2 separate regions of the Homo sapiens genome follow, and region 1 is linked to region 2. The links are contacts of gene promoters, found by promoter capture Hi-C in human tissues and cell types (Jung and others, 2019). All regions are on one chromosome and are shown on one strand. The core of a region is centred on a gene start or on the middle of the fragment in contact, and the rest is flanking DNA. Distances in the headings are between cores, read along the strand shown. Region 1 overlaps MYADM-AS1 (MYADM antisense RNA 1). Region 2 holds the start of CACNG6 (calcium voltage-gated channel auxiliary subunit gamma 6).

Region 1 (3,453 bases), core at 870-3,369, 130 kb after region 2:
CTCTATAAAAATACAAAAATTAGCCAGGTATTGGTGGTACCTGCAGTCCCAGCTACTGGGGAGACTGAGGCTGGAGAATCACTTGAGCCTGGGAAGCAGAGGTTGGAGTGAGCCGAGATCACGCCACTGCACTCCAGCCCCTGGATGACAGAGTAAAACCCTGTCTCAAAAAAAAAAAAAAAAAAGAACTCAGCCGGGCACAGTGGCTCACGCCTGTAATCCCAGTACTTTGGGAGGCTGAGACAGGCACATCACGAGGTCAGGAGATCGAGACCATCCTGACTAACACGGTGAAACCCCGTCTCTACTAAAAATACAAAAAATTAGCCGGGCGTGGTGGTGGGCACCTGTAGTCCCAGCTACTTGGGAGGCTGAGGCAGAAGAATGGCGTGAACCTGGGAGACGGAGCTTGCAGTGAGCCAAGATCGCACCACTGCACTCCAGGCTGGGAGACAGAGCGAGACTCCATCTCAAAAAAAAACAAAAAAACAAACAAAAAACCCTCATCAACTCATCAGTGCATGCTCCTTCAAAGTCAGTGATGAGAGACTCTAGGGTGTGTCAGCTAGCAAGAAATCTTCTACAACATATAAGCACCACCTTTGCCATGCCGTATTGGTTAGAAGAAAGTAACACGTTCCTCCCACACTCAAGGGATGGGGATGATACAAGTGTAGAAGATTTCTTTTTAGGAGGAAGAAAATTTTCTGGACACACAAAGTAGTGATTGGCCAGGTGCAGTGGTTCACGCCTGTTATCCCAGTACTTTGCGAGGTTGAGGCAGGCGGATCACTTGAGGCCAGGAGTTCAAGACCAGCCTGGCCAACATGGTGAAACCCTGTCTCTACTAAAAATACAAAAATTAGCCAGGTATGGTGGTGCATGCCTGTAATCCCAGCTACTCAGGAGGATGAGGCAGAAGAATTACTTGAACCTGGGAGTCAGAGTTTGCAGTGACCTGAGATCACACCACTGCATTCCAGCCTGGGCGACAGAGTGACTGAGACTCTCTCTCAAAAAACAAACAAACAAACAAAAAATAATAACCACCTAGCAGCAAAGCCTGTGAATGCATTTCTGCTTCCTTTTTTTTTTTTTTTTTGAAACAGGGTCTCGCTCTGCCGCCCAGGCTGGAGTAGTGCAGTGGCGTGATCTCGGCTCACTGCAGCCTCGACGTCCAGAGCTCAAGCAATCCTCCTGCCTCAGCCTCCAGAGTAGCTGGGACTACAGGTGCTCGCCACCATGCCAGGCTAATTTTTTTTTTTTTTTTTTTTTTGGTAGAGACTGGTTCTCACTCAGTTACGAAGACGGGTCTTGAACTCCTGAGTTCAAGCGATCCACCTGCCTCAGTCTCCCAAAGAAGTAGTAGCAACATTTTTAAAAAGTTTAAAAAAAAAATAAGAAAAAAGTCAGGAGAGTTGGGGTTGCAATGAATAGGCAGAGTAAGAGATATTTTAGGAGAATGAAACTGTATTATGACACCATAGTGGTAAATACTGATTATTATACATTTGTATGAACCTATAGATTCTATGACACCAAGTGAACCCCAGTGTAAACCGTGGACCCTGGGTGAAGATGACATGTCAAATCAGCGGAGGTTCATCCACTGTAACAAATCTACCACTAGCTGGGGATGGTGGTAGTTGGGGAGGCTGTGCATGTGTGGGGACAGGGAAATCTCTGTACCTTCTGCTCAATTTTTATGTGAACCTAAAAATGCTTTTAAAAATAAACTCTATTGGCTGGGCGCGGTGGCTCATGCCTGTAATCCCAGCACTTTGGGAGGCTGAGGCGGGCAGATCTCTTGAGGTCAGGAGTTCGAGACCAGCCTGGCCAACATAATGAAACCCCATCTCTAATAAAAATACAAAAATTAACCAGATGTGGAGGCTCATGCCTGTAGTCCCAGCTACTCAGGAGGCTGAGGTGGGAGAATCACTTGAACCCAGGAGGCAGAGATTGCAGTGAGCAGAGATCACGCCACTGCACTCCAGCCTAGGCGACAGAGCGAGACTCTGTCTCAATAATAATAATAATAATAATAATAATAATAATAATAGACCGGGCGGGGGCCTTACGCCTGTAATCCCAGCACATTGAGAGGCCGAGGCGGGCGGATCACCTGAGGTCGGGAGTGTGAGACCAGCCTGACCAACATGGAGAAACCGCGGCTCTACTAAAAATACAAAATTACCTGGGCGTGGTGATGCCTGCCTGTAATCCCAGCTACTCAGGAGGCTAAGGCAGGAGAATCGCTTGAACCCGGGAGGCAGAGGTTGCAGTGAGCCAAGATCGCGCCATTGCACTCCAGCCTGGGCAACCAGAGCGAAACTCCGTCTCAATAAATAATAATAATAATAATAAAATTTAAAATTCGGTTTCTCAGTCTCACTAGCCAGGTTTCAAGTGCTCTTTGTGGCTATGGCACGGTAGCACAGCCTTCATTTCGTGTGGACTCCTTAGGCTCAGAATAGAGCTCTGGGTTTTGGAGTGTGTCAGCCTGTATTAGCATTCAGACTCCAGCGGTAGAGTAAAAAAAAATACATTGTGACCAACTGGGGTTTATTCCAGAAATGCCAAAATGGCTTTTTTTTCTTTTTCTTTTTCTTTTTCTTTTTTTTTTTGAGACAGAGTCTCTCTGGGTCTCCTAGGCTGGAGTGCAGAGGCGTGATCACAGTGGCGTGATCACAGCTCACTACAGCCTCAACCTCCCGGCCTCAAGCGATCCTCCCTCCACAGCCTTCTGAGTAGCTGGGAATACAGGTGTGTACCACTATGCCCAGCATGGTGTTTTTAGTAAAGACAGGGTTTTGCCATGTTGCCCAGGCTGGTCTTGAACTCCCGGGCTCAAGCAATTTTCCTGCCTCAGTTTCCCAAAACCACCCGTAAGCCACTGTGCCCAGCCCAGAATGGCTAATATTCAAAAACCATTAATGAGCTTTATCATATTAACAAAGTAAAAAAAAAATCAGTATGATCATCTTATATATGCTAAAAGAATATTTGACAAAATTTAGTATCTATGTTTTTTGGTTTTGGGTTTTTTTTTTTTTTTTGAGATGGAGTCTTGCTCTGTCACCCAGGCTGGAGTATAGTGGTGTGATCTCAGCTCACTGCAACCTATGCCTCCCGAGTTCAAACGATTCTCCTGTCTCAGCCTCCTGAGTAGCTGGGATTACAGGCTCTGGCCACCATGCCCAGCTAATTTTTTTGTATTTTTAGTAGAGACAGGGTTTGGCCAGGCTGGTCTCAAACTCCTGACCTCGTGATCCGCCTGCCTCGGCCTCCCAAAGTGCTGGGATTACAGGCATGAGCCACCTCGGCTGGCTCTATGAATTTTTTTTTTAGAAAAACACTGACTAGCTGGGTGTGGTCATGTACAACTGTGGTCCCAGCTACTTGGGAGGCTGAGATAGGAGGATCTCTTTAGCCCGTGGGTTCAATTCTGCA
Region 2 (3,457 bases), core at 735-3,234:
GTAGGCGGGGGCACAAGCTCTCTTTAGAGGTGCAGAATAGGGGTACAGACTCGTCTGAGGGGGTCTCAGGTCACAGCCTGGTCTGGGGGTACAGGATGGCCTGGGGGCACAGACTCCCTGTAGGCACATTCTGGTCTTGGGGTACAGTCTGTAGCAGGAAAGCAAGCTCTAAGGCACAGGTTCTCTGGCGGTAGGCCCGTGAGGGACCTGGGCCATATCTGGGGGATCCCTCTATCTCTCAGCAGTTTCTGAGAGCAGAGGACGAAGTGGGCACTGGCGCTTACTGCGAGGCAAGCTGTCTCCTCCGGGCTCAGGCTTTTGTCCCTGGGGCGGGTTTTCTCCTCGGACACGGGCCCCTCTCCCTCCCTGTCCGTGGGACGCAAGCCCTGCGCTCGGGGCGGCGGCTGCTCACCTCCGGGCAGCTCCGCGGGGCCGCAGGTGTCCCTGTCCACGGGCACGTCCGCCTGCCACAGCCGCTTGGTGCACGCCTTCCACAGCCCCAGGTGGGCCGCTTCGCACACGGCGCTGCCGTTGGCCTTGTAGGTGTTGAGCTCCACCCAGAACTCGGTGCCCACGGACAGCACCGCCAGCGTGGCGCCCACGGCGGCCAGCAGCAGCGCCAGCTTCACCTTCCCCTCGCGCTCGGGCGTCAGCCCCGACCTGCCCTGCCCGTGCGCCCGCCGCCGGCCCGCGGCCCCCCGCCGCCGGTTCTCCTCTTGCAGGAAGAAGTTGGACCACATCATCTTATGGCCGGTGGGGTCGGGAAGGGGGAGGAGGCAGAGCCGGCGAAGGGCCTCGAGGGGCGGGAGCGAGGAGCGGCCTGGGGTCTTGAAGGGGGTGAGGGACTCAGTTTCCCCTGGGTATGAAAGAGGGAGAGCCGAGTCCTGTCTGGAATCTCAAATGCGAAAGTCGAGATTGCTTCTGGGGTTCAGAAGAGAAAAATGATCCCCAGGGCTGGGGAAGCCTCTGGGGTTCAGAGGAGGGTCTAGGTTGCCCTCAAGAACTTGGCAAAGAAGACGGGGCCCAGAGGAAAAACAAGGCCCCCACCCTGAGGTTTAGAGATAGAATTCGGCTTCCCAGGAGGGAGTCCCCCCAAGAGCTCCAGAGGAATGAGAACTGGTGCCCGCTGAAGCTCCCTGCAGCTCCAAGGGGCTGCTTTGGGGTCCCCGCTGGGGGGTTAACAAAAGGGAAACTGGTTTTCCTGAGAGATCTGAGCACCCCACTAGGGCTAAGAGTTTGGGGTACCCAGGAAGGGACCTGAGGTCCTGTGTGTGTTTGGAGGAGATGTGGCCGGGGTTCCCTTGGGCTCAGAGTTTGAGAACAGAGGACTTGGGGACCCTCTGGGATTCGGAAAAGGAAGACCTGGGGTCCCGGGAAGCTCCCAAGGGGAGGTCGGAATTCAATCCGGGTCTCAAGAGAGGCAGTAGGACCCCGGCATCCACAGAAGGAGAAGAACAGAGCCCTGGCTGGGGCTCAGAAGAGGACTGGGCCTCGCTGGAATTCAGGAAAAGGGGATAGGGGTCTCCCCTGCCATTCAGAAAAGATCCGAGGTCTCTACTGAGCCTGGAAAAGGGGCCGGTGGCCGGAAGACAGAGTGGAGTCCAGAGGCGGGAGGCTACGGGGCCTCCCCGAGGGCTGGGGCAGATGGGACCGGGGGCCCTCCTGGGGCTCACACTATGGGGCTGTGGTCCGCACTGCGGCTCGGAAAACCAGGACTGAGTCCCCCCAGGGTTCAAAGGCCAACCGCGACCCGCAAGAGACGCTGCGCCCCTTCGGGATCAGTCCGTCTCCCTCCCCCGGGCTCCCAGGGCCTTCCCGGTCGGGTTCGCGCCAGGCTCAGCCCCAGGCCAGGGCCCCCCCTCGGGGCTCCCACCCCCGACTCCCGAGCAGGGGCCCCTCTCGCTCTCCTGCCTCGGCCCCGCGCCGACCCCAGCTCCGCGCTGCCTCCGAAGCGTCCGGCTGTGCCCGCCACCGCCACCGGCCTGGCCTCCGCCCGCGCCCGGCCTCGTCCCCACCCGCCCACCCCCCACCCTCCACCCTCCACCCTCGGGGCTATTTCGGGCTTGACCCGTAAATAACACCCGCACCTGTCGCCCGGCGCCTGTTGCCATAGGGATCCCGGGTGTTTTAAGGGGACGAGGAAGGGGGGAGGGAGGCCGCCCGGGGAGGAAGGGGCCGAGCCTGATGGGACTTTCATTTCACTAAGGGGCAAGAGCGGCGCCGAGAGTCCCAGCTCCGCAGTCTCCCGGGCAGCAGGAGACGGGCGGGGCAGCAAGTCTGACTGGGGTTACCAGGGAGGAGGGGCGGGAGGCAGGGCCCCGGGTCTCAGGGAGGAGGGCCTGAGGCCAGGAGTCTTGGGTCCCTAAGGGAGAAGAAGCCTCGGTACCCCACTTCTGAGTGGTAGAGGAAGAAGGCCTGGGTACCCAGAATCTTGGATCTGAGAGGAGAGGAACCTGGTCTCCTAGGTCCTGGGCTCCTGAGTCTGAGGGAGGAGGGGCTGGGGGCCTGAACTCCTGGGTCTGAGGGAGGAGGGGCTGGGGTCTGGACTCCTGGGTCTGAGGGAGGAGGGGCTGGGCCTGGGCTCCTGAGTCTGAGGGAGGAGGGACTGGGGCCTGGACTTCTGGGTCTGAGGGAGGAGGGACTGGGGCCTGAACTCCTGGGTCTGAAGGAGGAGGGGCTGGGGGCCTGGACTCCTGGGTCTGAGGGAGGAGGGGCTGGGGGCCTGGACTCCTGGGTCTGAGGGAGGAGGGGTTGGGGGCCTGGGCTCCTGGGTCTGAGGGAGGAGGGGCTGGGGGTCTGGACTCCTGGGTCTGAGGGAGGAGGGGCTGGGGCCTGGACTCCTGGGTCTGAGGGAGGAGGGGCTGGGGGCCTGGGCTCCTGAGTCTGAGGGAGGAGGGGCTGGGGGCCTGGACTTCTGGGTCTGAGGGAGGAGGGACTGGGGCCTGAACTCCTGGGTCTGAAGGAGGAGGGGCTGGGGGCCTGGACTCCTGGGTCTGAGGGAGGAGGGGCTGGGGGCCTGGGCTCCTGGGTCTGAGGGAGGAGGGGCTGGGGGCCTGGGCTCCTGGGTCTGAGGGAGGAGGGGCTGGGGGCCTGGGCTCCTGGGTCTGAGGGAGGAAGGCCTGGGCCTGGACTCCTGGGTCTGAGGGAGGAGGGGGCAGGGGGCCTGGACTCCTGGATCTGAGGGAGGAGGGGCTGGGCCTGGACTCCTGGGTCTGAGGGAGGAGGAGGGCCGGGGAGCCTGGACTCCTGGTCAAGGCGTTGGCAGACCCAGAGTCCTGGGCCTCAGGGAGGAGACTGGGGCCAGAACCCTGGGTCTTGAAGGATGGAAGGCCTGATTTCCATGTTGGAGAAAGCGCAGGCCTCAGGGCAGGGCCGGCTGTCAGGGGCACAGAATGAAAGCAGCACTCCTCTTCATCGAGTTTATTAGACGGGGCACCCCTGGGGGACCTTCCATGCA

The links. Contacts are between HindIII fragments. The study calls those that stand out against the background at their distance.
Region 1: a fragment that was not itself captured here is called in contact with the fragment with the promoter of CACNG6 in region 2 in 1 of the 25 tissues and cell types used here (liver).

The regions. Positions count from the first base shown.
Region 1 is chr19:53,859,258-53,862,710 of GRCh38, reverse strand. All of the region lies in intron 1 of MYADM-AS1 (MYADM antisense RNA 1), which reads left to right. Among named protein-coding and RNA genes, the nearest start is that of MYADM, 6.9 kb to the left of the region's middle. The HindIII fragment of the contact is 7,269 bases long and covers 1-3,453 here.
Region 2 is chr19:53,990,164-53,993,620 of GRCh38, reverse strand. CACNG6 (calcium voltage-gated channel auxiliary subunit gamma 6) reads right to left here and starts at 1,984. Exons shown (of 4, transcript NM_145814.2): 1 at 413-1,984. The coding sequence starts at 743. CACNG8 (calcium voltage-gated channel auxiliary subunit gamma 8) reads right to left here. Exons shown (of 4, transcript NM_031895.6): 4 at 3,406-3,457. The HindIII fragment of the contact is 43,229 bases long and covers 1-3,457 here.